Linked DNA regions of Homo sapiens: all the other regions are linked to region 2. The links are contacts of gene promoters, found by promoter capture Hi-C in human tissues and cell types (Jung and others, 2019). All regions are on one chromosome and are shown on one strand. The core of a region is centred on a gene start or on the middle of the fragment in contact, and the rest is flanking DNA. Distances in the headings are between cores, read along the strand shown. Region 1 has its middle 52 kb from the start of ABCG2. Region 2 holds the start of PKD2 (polycystin 2, transient receptor potential cation channel). Region 3 overlaps ABCG2 (ATP binding cassette subfamily G member 2 (JR blood group)).

Region 1 (3,820 bases), core at 1,082-3,581, 200 kb before region 2:
AGGGTGGAGAACAAGATCACTGAAGGAGAGAAGTTCAAGGTAGTCAGAGGCCAGAGTGCTGGGGAGATCGTTTTCGGAGATACTGAATTCACCAAGAATTAAGACAGAAGTAGTGTCACAGAGAGTGACAGTACCAGGGGCTACAATTACTGATACAGGCGGGAGATGCTTCTGAAATCTGAAGATGGCAGCAACCATGCAGGGGTAGTCAGTGTTAAAGTGTAATGACATGAAATTCAAAGCTGAGATCTTCTGGGGAAAGTTATTAGATGATCCACTTTGGGATGTTCATATTTTTTGGTAGTCGCTCATCTCAGAATAAGCAATATCAGAAAGTGAAATTTTAATCACAAGAGGGCGCCAGAGTCCAGCAAATGATTACTTTTGGTTTTCACCTAAAGCTAGGGCAATCATACTTTTGAGAGAGGAAGAGGCCACTACTAATAATTATTTGGGGGCGGTATGTGTAAATTGGGACATAGACTCACACCTTCTCCTACACTATGTAAGCATGGGCAATTTAAGAATGAACTAGCTGTGCACCAAAAGCTCTAATTCCCATAAATCACTCGAAATGCTTTTGACTGCAATCAGGTAAGACAAAAATGGCCAAACTTGATTTTATCTGGAAGAGAGGCTTGAGAAAGACTTTCCCCTCTGGCCCACATCTCTAGTTCTATTTATTGCTTATCCCGTTTTTCCCTTTAGTGCAGTACCGGTTTGACTGTATCTTCAAGTTAAGAGAATTGCTGTATTCCCCAAAATATCTTGGTCATTTGAAAGTAAAGAGTTCTCGGCCGGGCACAGTGGCTCACGCCTGTAATCCCAGCACTTCAGAAGGCAAAGGTAAGCGGATCACGTGGTCAGGAGATCGAGCCCATCCTGGCTAACACAGTGAAACCCCGTCTCTACTTAAAATACAAAAAAATTACCCAGGTGTGGTGGTGTACTCCGGTAGTCCCAGCTACTCAGGTGTCTGAGGCAGAAGAATCACTTGAACCTGGGAGGCGGAGGTTGCAGTGAGCGGAGATCGCGCCATTGCACTCCAGCCTGGACAACAGAGTGAGACTCCATCTCAAAAAGAAAATTAAAACGAAAACATGATGATGGAAATAACAGACACTGGGGTCTCCAAAAGTGGGGGGGGGTGGGGCAGGGGTTGAACAATTACCTATCAGGTACAATGTTCACTATTTGGACATTGGGTACACTAGAAGCTCAGTCCCCACCAGTATGCAATCTGCTTATGTAACAAACAAGCACGTGCAACCCTGAATCTAAAATAAAATAATTTTTAAAATACACAATGAAAGTGGCTTTTGTTAAGTCCCCTGTTTAGCACATCCTCTCCTTAATTAGCCAAACTACTCTCTCTTCTTCTTTTACATATATATATATATTTTTTTTATTTTTTAATTTTTTTAGGGACCAAGCCTCTCTGTGTTGCCCAAGCTAGAGTGCAGTGGTTAATCCCTGGTGCAGTCACAGGGCACTACAGCCTCGAGTTCCTGGCCCCAAGAAATCCTCTCACCTCATTCTCCTGAGTAGCTGGGAATACAGGGGCAGAACATGGCATCTGCGCCTCTTCTTAACAAATGCAAATAAAATCAACTCTGGCTTCTGTTATTCCTTGAAAAAAATGTATGTATGGGTCAGGTGTGGTGGCTTATGCCTGTCATTCCAGCATTTTGGGAAGAAGCTAGGAGTTCGAGACCAGTGTGGGCAACAAAGCAAGACTGTCTCTATAAAATATTAGCCAGTTAATGGTGGCAAGTGCCTATATTCCCAGGTACTCAGGGGCTGAGGTGGGAGAATTGCTTGAACCTAGGAGTTTGAGGCTGCAGTGAGCTATGATTGTACCACTGCACTCCAGCCTGGGCAACAGAGCAAGATCCCATCTCTTAGAAAAAAAAAAAGAAAAGAAAAAGTATGTATTTATAGCTACCAGCACACTTTTAACTATATGGGGCTTATTTCTACCATTCTTTTTGTTTTAGAACAACATCCTTCATCCTCACTGAATGGGATGAATGTAAATAGGACCTCAAGAAAATAAGGCAAAGGTAAGGCTGCTGGGGAGAGCATTTCAAAATAAACTACAAATAGATTTTACAATTTATTTTACTCTCCTTCAACGAACACAAAAATATTGCATTACTAGCCAGGCACAATGGTGCCTGCCTCCAGTCCCAGCCACTGGAGGCTGAGGTGGGAAGGTTGCTTGAGCTCAGGAGTTCCAGTCCAGCTTAGGCAACATAGAGAGGCACTGTCTTAAACGTATATATGTATATGTGTGTGTGTGTGTGTGTGTGTGTGTGTGTGTGTGTAGGATTACTTACATTACTGACATCTTTAACCTAATTATATCTAATTCAATCAAAACATTTTATTACCAACTTATATGTGCATGAGCATTCTACACCTGTAGGAATACCCACAAGGTAATAGTCTTATACAGGATGCTTAGGGTGTTTTGTTTTGTTTTGTTTTATAGGACACATCTTTAAGATGCATTCAAAGAGTGATCTACCACTAGGGTACAAAAGCAAAAAACGTATTCAGTCAAAAATAACTGACAACTGGGGAAAATGGTGAATAGCAGAGAAGATTCTGTTTATTAGTTTTATCTTTAGGTTATCTTTGGCAAAGGAAAAGCACAGTATATTGCTACTACCACGTAGCTTGAATCTAAAACTTATCATTACTTATTATTTTATATAACATTGCCAACACCAACACAACCCCTGCTAATCAAACTGAAAAATTTTCTTTCACTTAAAATTTTTATTTTTTACTTATAGAAAGAGGTATGAACTTTGTTTTTTGTTTTTGTTTTGTTTTTTGTTTTTTTTTGAGACAGAGTCTTGCTCTCACCCAGCCAGGCTGGAGTGCAGTGGCATGACATCAGCTCACTGCAACCTCCGGCTCCCAGGTTCAAGCGATTCTTCTGCCTCCTGAGTAGCTGGGATTACAGGCGCTCACCACCACGCCTGGATAATTTTTGTATTTTAGTAGAGATGGGATTTCACCATGTTGGCCAGGCTGGTCTCAAACTCCTGACCTCAGGTGATCCATCTGCCTCAGCCTCTGAAAGTGCTGGGATTATAAGTGTGAGCCACCGCATCCGGTCTGAATTTTGTTTTTATTTATTTTGTTTTTTTTGGTGTTTCTTGTTTGCTTTTTTGTTTTTTTTTTTTTTTTTGAGATGGAGTCTCGCTCTGTCGCCCAGGCTGGAGTGCAGTGGTGCCATCTCTGCTCACTGCAAGCTCTGCCTCCCTGGTTCAAGTGATTCTTGTGCCTCAGTCTCCTGAGTAGCTAGAATTGTAGGTGTGTGCGACCACACTTAGCTAATTTTTGTATTTTTAGTAGAGACAGGGTTTCGCCATGTTGGCCAGGCTGGTATTGAACTGACCTCAGGTGATCCGACTGCCTCGGCCTCCCAAGGTGCTGAGATTATAGGCTTAAACCACTGCACCTGGCCAAGGTATGAACTGTTTTGTTTTGTTTTTTTTGAGACAGTCTCGCTCTGTCACCCAGGCTGGAGTGCAGTGGTGTGATCTCGCCTCACTGTAACCTCCGCCTCCCAGGTTAATTGGTTAAGACCAATTTTGTCAGTCCAATTTCAAATGTTATAATTAAATAAGTAATTTAGGCTTTTGATTTAAAGTTGCAATACCACAAGTTTGGAGAAAATAGTGGGACACTTGAAATAAGTTAGGTTGGCCATATTTATGGATTCAATTTATTTGCTTTGTCTGGGTTGATTGAGCACTTGGGAAAGTTCAGTTTTTTAAATTAAAAAATGGAAGTACCTTGGTAT
Region 2 (3,776 bases), core at 3-2,502:
CAAAACAACCACACACATCACCAAAAAAATGCACCAATGACAATCTGCCACACTCCTCCCACAACTTGACATTATATGCACTGTACTGCTACCCTTTTCAGCCCGGGACAATGGAGTGTCCAGGCAAGAAGGAAACCACGGGTGACTATAACATTTTCCTTTAGATTTTGTGACATTGGCAAATATGCAGTTGCAACTACCATCAGTTACACAAGTAATGTTCATTTTTTCCTCTACAAGAAAAAAAAAAACAAAACCCAGATGTACTCTTTCACTCTAATTAGGCTTTCACTAATTTTCAGTAAAAAAGACTATGGTGACATATCCTGAAGAAGGAGGTATCCAATAAATATGCACCAACAAAAGAGCAGTGGAATTCCGCGCTGGGTACCGGAAATAGGGCAGCACTAGCGGAGGTGGGGAATGCGCTTCCAAGGGAGGCGGAACGCAGAGGGGATGCGAGATGGAGCCCGGGGAGCTGCCGCAGCGGGCGATGGCCCCGGCCGGCGCCGGCCGTTCTGGTTCGTGCATCTGCCGCTGCGGGTCGCGCGCTCTTACCTCGCAGCCCGCGAACCAGCCTCTCCGCCCAGGCCACTCGGGGCGGCTGCCCTTCCAGGGGGAGGTGGCGATGCAGCGGGTCCCCGCCGCCGACTGGGCTGGGGCACGGCGGGCCCTGGTCCTCTCGCCGGCGCCGCCTCCCGCTCGGGTGGCCCGCGCCGTGGTAGCCCCCAAGCCCCCGGCTCCGCGCGCCCACGGAGCTCACGGCCGAGGAGGCGGCCGACCTCCGGCTGCCCGGGCGCCACTCTACGTCCATCTCCACCACCATTCCGCCTTCTTCCCCTTCCACCTCCTCCTCCTCCTCCTCGGCCTCGAAGCCGGGGTTATCGCGGCTCCACGCCTGCCGGGAGCACGACGAGAGCGGAGGAGAAGGGGAGGCCGCGGCTCCGGCCGGGGGGTCCCGCGCGGCCGCCTGCCGGATGCGCTGCATCTCGATCTCCAGGCCCCGCTGCTCGCAGAGGCCGCCCGGGGCGGCGAGGCTGGCGCCCACGGCCGCGCAGCCAGCCATCAGCCGGCCCGGGTCCGGCGCGCGGGGCGCGGGCGGCCGCTTGGCGTCCCCGGGCTGCTGAGGCTGCACGCGACTGGAGTTCACCATCGCGGTCACTGGCGTCCGGCGCGCGGGTGCGCGGCGCCGCGCTCGGCGCTGTGCGCCTCAGGAGCCATGTTCCTTTCTTCCCGGCGCCCGCCGCCGCCTGCTCCCCGCCCCCGACCTCCCCGCGGTCCCGCGTCCTCTCGCCCGCCCCTTTGGCCCGCCTCCCTCTGGCCTCGCCCCGCCTCGCCCATCCGCCGCGGCGCGCTGAGCGGGGAGGTGCGAGGGAGCCGCCCCCGCGGTCTGCGCGCTCGCCCGGCGGCTCCCGAGTCCGCGTTCCAAGTGGAACCGGAGCCCGGGCGCGGGCGCCCACGTTCCATTCCCGGGAAGGCCTGGGAAGGGAGGGAATCGCTCACCCGCCAGCCCGCCTGCAGGGAAAGGGCTCCTGGAGCTGTCGATGCCTGCCCGACGCTGAGATAACTCTTGGGTCCCAGTTATCCACCAGCCACTTCTGCCTCGATTCACCAAAGGGCAGGGAAAGAACCTTTTGGTGAGATGGTGTGAATTAGCGACATCCAGCCTGAGCTGAAGTCTCCAGCGGGTCAAAGAAATCTTTCCATTTGCAAACTACCAAGGCTGACTTGCTGTGCATTTGGCGGGCCTCCTGCCCCTGATTCTGCTGGTTTGGAGATGCTTTCTCGCTCTTTGGTTGGCTTCTGTCTCCACACATTGTGGGGATCCCAGGGATTCGTCATAGGACTCTCGGATCGCTGGTGCCTCCACTGTGATCTCCGGTCTCCCTGCGGCCAGCACTGACTTCTAGCAACAGAATCCTGCATGAGGGCCTAGGCACAGAACTTTATTTCCACTCTTCTGAACACATCTAATGTGATGCTCTGCAATTGTCTGAAATTTATCCTACCCTAAGTCATTATCTTGTCCCCTTCTCTGGAACCTGCTTCACTTCCCGTATCCCAAGGTGAGGTTTGGGGCTTCGCTGTCCTCCTCACTTCCCAGGCCACTCTTCTTCATGGAAGCCTCGCGGTTTACCCTCCACCGCCTACACCTTATCTTCTTGTTACTTTTGCCCCACAGATATCACCCTGATATGATCTCTGTTTCTCACTCCTGCTGGCTTGATCTTATGTCTTGCATTATTCCGCATTAGAACAATTGATCCCTGTCAACTCCCATCTCTATTCTCCACGTCGGTGTCCTCACTATTTCCAGGTTATATTGCAGAACCAAAGCTGCTTATTTGTCACGTTGATGCTTAGACACCTCTGTGGGCTTCTGGCAGCTGAAAGGATAAAATTTAATTTCTGTGGTTTGGTTTAGTAAATTCTCATAATCTGCTCCTGTATTTGTTTGTTAGGGCTGCCATAACAAAGTACCAGAGACTGGGTGGCTTAACAGAAATTTATTTGCTCACCTTGTCTCTACAAAAAATACAAAAATTAGCCAGGCTTTGCGGTGTGTGCCTTTGGTCCCAGCTATTAGGGACGCTGAGGTGGGAGGATCGCTTGAGCCCGGGAGGCAGAGGATGTAGTGAGCCAAGATCGGGCCACTGCACTCCAAGTGACAGAGTGAGACTCTGTCTCATAAAGAAAGAAAGAGAGAGAGAGAAGAAAGAAAAAAAGAAGGAAGGAAGGAAAAAGAAAAGAAAAATTGTATTTTCTCACGAGGTGTTGGCAGAGTTGGTTTCTTCTGAGGCCTCTCTCCTTGGCTTGCAGATGGCCCCGCTTTTGTGTCCTCACGCCGTCTTCCCTCTTCCCTCTGTATGCGTCTGTGTCCTAATTGTCTATTCTTATACATCATATTGGATTAGGGCCTACCCTCATGACCTTGTTTTCACTTCATTACTTCTGTAAAGACCCTGTCTCCAAGTATGGTCATGTTCTGAGGTAATGGGGGTTAGGACTTCAACACAGAAATTTTTGGGGGGACACAATTTAGCTTTAACAGCTCTTAATGTACTCCTCTAGCATGGCATCCCATGCCATCCATCCACCTTAATGAATTATTCATTTGTTCTCTAGGCACATATAACATGCTGCTAATATTTAGGTAATTATGGCTACCTATTACCTGATCCTGCAGTTTATTAATTTAGATATTCATGTTCTTCTCTTAACTGTGAGCTTCTCAAAGGCAAGACTGGTGGGTCTGGAGCACAGCCCTAGCTCATGCTATTCATCAGTTCATTCTGAAGACATTTCCTGTGCCCTGAATTAAGGTCTGGGCATGTAGAGAGGAGTATGATACAGCCTTGGCCCTCAAGAGGAGACAGACCAAAAATGAGAGATTACCAAGTGGGTTAAGGGTTATGGTGCCTGTCATCCAAGGAACTTCTGAAGCTGAAGATGTCCTGAATAGCACCAGCAGCACTGCAGAGTCGAAGGATTCTTACAGACACATTCCAACAGAGGAGAGCCAGGCCTGGAAAGAGAATGCAGAATCTGAGCCAAAGGGTCCTCTGGAGAATAGGCCTAGTACAATGTTTTCAAATTGTGATCAGAAGATCTCCAGCATCACTTGCAGCTCTTGCTAAAAATATAGATACTGGGTCCACATTCCAACCTTATTGACTCAAAATCTTCCGGATTCCAGTCCTGAAATTCTGAATCTTCACAGGGGATTCTCAGGCATCCAAAGTTTGAGAAGCACCAATGTGTTCCAAATGGAAGAG
Region 3 (3,842 bases), core at 19-2,518, 140 kb before region 2:
TTTATTAGGCCCCAGTCTCATTCCAGACACCAGACCAACTTGGACTGCGCCCCCAAAAACTTGTCATCCCTACTATCTTCTGTCTAGTCATACTCCTATTCACCATTCTCAACTACTCATACATGCCCGCTCTTGTTTACACTGCCGGTTTACACTGTTTCTCCAAGCCACCACAGCTGATATCTCCTGGTGCTATCCCCAAACCGCCACTCTCAACTCTTAAAGTAAATAAATCATCTTTGCTGGCAGGGCTATGCTGAACCTCCTTAGGCACTCTCTAATTGGATGTCCTGGGTCCTCCCAATTCTTAGTCCTTTAATACCTGTTTTTCTCCTTGTCTTATTCCGTTCTTTTTTCAATTCATACAAAATTGTATCCAGGCCATCACCAATACTTATATAGGACAATTGTTTCTTCTAACAACCCCACAATATCACCCCTTACCACAAAATCTTCCTTCAGCTTAATCTCTCCCACTTTAGGTTCCCACGCCGCCCCTAATCCCACTTGAAGCAGCCCTGAGAAACATCACCCATTCTCTCTCCATACCACCCCCCAAAAATTTTCACCACCCCAACACTTTACCACTATTTTGTTTTATTTTTCTTATTAATATAAGAAGACAGGAATGTCAGGCCTCTGAGCCCAAGCTAAGCCATCATATCCCCTGTGACCTGCACATATACATCCAGATGGTTGGTTCCTGCCTTAACTGATGACATTCCACCACAAAAGAACTGAAAATGGCCTGTTCCTGCCTTAACTGATGACATTACCTTGTGAAATTCCTTCTCCTGGCTCATTCTGGCTCAAAAGCTCCCCCGCTGAGCACCCTGTGACGCCCCACCCCTGCCCACCAGAGAACAAACCCCCTTTACCCTTTACCTACCCAAATCTTATGAAATGGCCCCATCCCTATCTCCCTTTGCTGACTTTCTTTTCGGACTCAGCCCGCCTGCATCCAGGTGATTAAAAAGCTTTATTGCTCACACGAAGCCTGTTTGGTGGTCTCTTCACACGGACGCGAGTGAAAATTCATATTGCCTTAAAGTTTAAACATTATAGAGGACCTGACTGTATTTGCCAACTTGGATTCAGTCTCTTATGGGAAAGAAGTAAAATTGGTAGTATTTAGTAATTTTTTAAAGCTCCCATTTTTTTCTCAAATGAAACCCTGCCAGTGCTTCCAAAACAAATAATGCATATGTGAGCTTCTATCTATTAGGCTCTGGTAAGAAACCAGGATCATTTTATTAGCTGAGTAGCTTAAACTACATCCTAATATTATAATTTTGGTATCTGTTGATTGAATTCACAGTGAGAAAAGGATTTGAGACCCATATTTATGTTAGTCATACTAGCAATGAAGAAGTACTGTGTTTATGATGAGACATTATTTGGTCTGAGATGGTAACTGTACCCGTGGATTAGAGAGAGGATCCCTTGCAATAATTAATGAGCCCTTCTATGATTTTGGAGTACACACACATTACATGCTCCTTCTTTTATATCTTTGTATACTGGATCATGATGTTTTTTATTGTAGGTCTCAGAATTTTGAGAAGTAATGCCGCTGCTCACATTTAATTTTCTGTTAATAATTCTTTTTTTTTTTTTTTGAGATGGAGTCTCACTCTGTCGCCCAGGCTGGAGTGCAGTGGCGCCATCTCGGCTCACTGCAAGCTCCACCTCCCGGGTTCACGCCATTCTCCTGCCTCAGCCTCCCCAGCAGCTGGGACTACCGGCGCCCCTCCACCACGCCCAGCTACTTTTTTGTATTTTTAGTAGAGATGGGGTTTCACCGTGTTAGCCAGGATGGTCTTGATCTCCTGACCTCGTGATCCACCTGCCTCGGCCTCCCAAAGTGCTGGGATTACAGGCATGAGCCACTGCACCCAGCCTCTGTTCATAATTTTTACTGCAATTCCGATGATTGAATTATAAACTGGAAGGGAGCAGGGATATTGATCTTCATGTAGTTGACATGTACTAGACTCACGGAGAACAAGGACTGGGTTGTAGGCACAATGCTGTGTGGTTTTGGGTAAATCTAACTCACACTCAACTTGATTTTGTTTCCCCCTGGGGACTTAGGATCCCAAAATGTTCTAATGACCCACCTCACTGCTGCTAATCTTCCCACAGTGCCAATTTGGTGGAGTCAACCTTGCAAAGGGAGAAGAGAAAGGGTGATGACTTTCCCAGAGCTTCTGCCGCTGTCCTCCCTATGTCTTCTAGCCCCAGTCACTACTCCTTTTATTTAAATTCATAGGGGCTTCTCAGTCAGTCCCCTCTTAAATGTAAATGAGTTATTCACTTCCTGTGGGCCTGAAGCTGAACCACTGTCATTTATTTTTGACCTTGTTTTCCCAGTTTGGGCAGTGTAAGAGGAGGTCAGGAAATGGAATTGTTTGGGGCAGGCGATTTTGCAGAACATGCACAGATAATAGGTTTCAGGGAGCTCTCATAGGCTATGGAGGGAGGGGTGCAGGACAGTGTCCTCATCTTGGCTCTTGATATTATTATGGTGGACTCTTATGTGGTCTCCCTGCATTGTCCCTACCCATGACCAAAGTCAGAGTGATCCTTTAAACCAAGCTTGTCCAACGTGCATGTGGCCCAAGATGGCTTTGAATGAAGCCCAACACAAATTAGTAAACTTTCTTAAAACATTATGTGATTTTTGTTTTTAATTTAGCTCATCAGCTGTTGTTAATGTTAGTGTGTTTTATATGTGGCCCAAGACAATTCTTCTTCCAGTGTGGCCCAGGGAAGCCAAAAGATTGGACACTCCTGCTTTAAATATAGATATCATTTCTTCACTCAGAACTTTCCTGTGCCTTCCAGTGCCATTCAGATCAAAGCCAAAGTCCTTCCTGTGGTCAGTGGTAGATACAACCCGAGTTCCTGCTCTCTTATCCTCCCTCACTCTGCTTCAGCCTCACTGGCCTCTTTGCTGTTCCTTCGACCAGCACTTGGACATATACTGCTCCTCCAGAAGGCCACCCTCAGAGCTCTGCTTGAGGGCCTCACTGGAAAGGCCTTCCGTGACCACCTCTGTTGCCCAGGTTGGAGTGCATTGGTGTGACCTTGGCTCACTGCAATCTCTGCCTCCCGGGTTCAAGCAATTCTTGTGCCTCAGTCTCCCAAGTAGCAGGAATTACAGGTATGCGCCACCACACCCGGATAATTTTTGTATGTTTAATAGAGATAAGGATTTCACCATATTGTCCAGGCTGGTCTCCAAATTCCGGGCCTCAAGCAATCCACCCACCTCGGCCTCCCAAAGTGCTGGGATTACAGGCGTGAGCCACCATTTCTGGCCCACCCTTCCTCTTTTGCTTTAATTTTTTTTCTCCGTAGCACTGTTGACTGATATTTTTCATATGTAACCTCACTGAGGGCCGGGATGTTTATCTGTTGTTTTGTTTTGTTCACTCCTGTAAGTCCAGTGCCTGCCAGATAATAGAAGTCTAGTAAATATCGAATTATTATTATTATTTTTTGAGACAGAGTTTCGCTCTTGTTGCCCAGAATGGAGTGCAATGGTGCGAGCTCAGCTCACCGCAACCTCTGCCTCCCAGGTTCAAGCAGTTCTCCTGCCTCAGCCTCCCGAGTGGCTGGGGTTACAGGCATGCGCTACCATGCCCAACTAATTTTGTATTTTTAGTAGAGACAGGGTTTCTCCATGTTGGTCAGGCTGGTCTCGAACTCCCGACCTCATGTGATCCGCCTGCCTCGGCCTCCCAAAGTGCTGGCATTACAGGCATGAACCACCATGCCCGGCCGAATTAATTTTATAGGTGAGAAACAGGCTTGGAGAGGCTAAGCAGTTTCTCCAG

What was found. Contacts are between HindIII fragments. The study calls those that stand out against the background at their distance.
Region 1: a contact is called between a fragment that was not itself captured here and the fragment with the promoter of PKD2 in region 2, in 2 of the 25 tissues and cell types used here (H1 embryonic stem cells and hippocampus).
Region 3: a contact is called between a fragment that was not itself captured here and the fragment with the promoter of PKD2 in region 2, in 1 of the 25 tissues and cell types used here (H1 embryonic stem cells).

What each region holds. Positions count from the first base shown.
Region 1 is chr4:88,208,692-88,212,511 of GRCh38, reverse strand. It overlaps a transcript of ABCG2 not described here. Among named protein-coding and RNA genes, the nearest start is that of ABCG2, 52 kb to the right of the region's middle. The HindIII fragment of the contact is 7,328 bases long and covers 1-3,820 here.
Region 2 is chr4:88,005,111-88,008,886 of GRCh38, reverse strand. PKD2 (polycystin 2, transient receptor potential cation channel) reads right to left here and starts at 1,252. Exons shown (of 15, transcript NM_000297.4): 1 at 559-1,252. The coding sequence starts at 1,153. RefSeq lists silencers at 370-509, 560-1,489. The HindIII fragment of the contact is 15,667 bases long and covers 1-3,776 here.
Region 3 is chr4:88,149,516-88,153,357 of GRCh38, reverse strand. All of the region lies in intron 1 of ABCG2 (ATP binding cassette subfamily G member 2 (JR blood group)), which reads left to right. Among named protein-coding and RNA genes, the nearest start is that of ABCG2, 7.2 kb to the left of the region's middle. The HindIII fragment of the contact is 6,040 bases long and covers 1-3,842 here.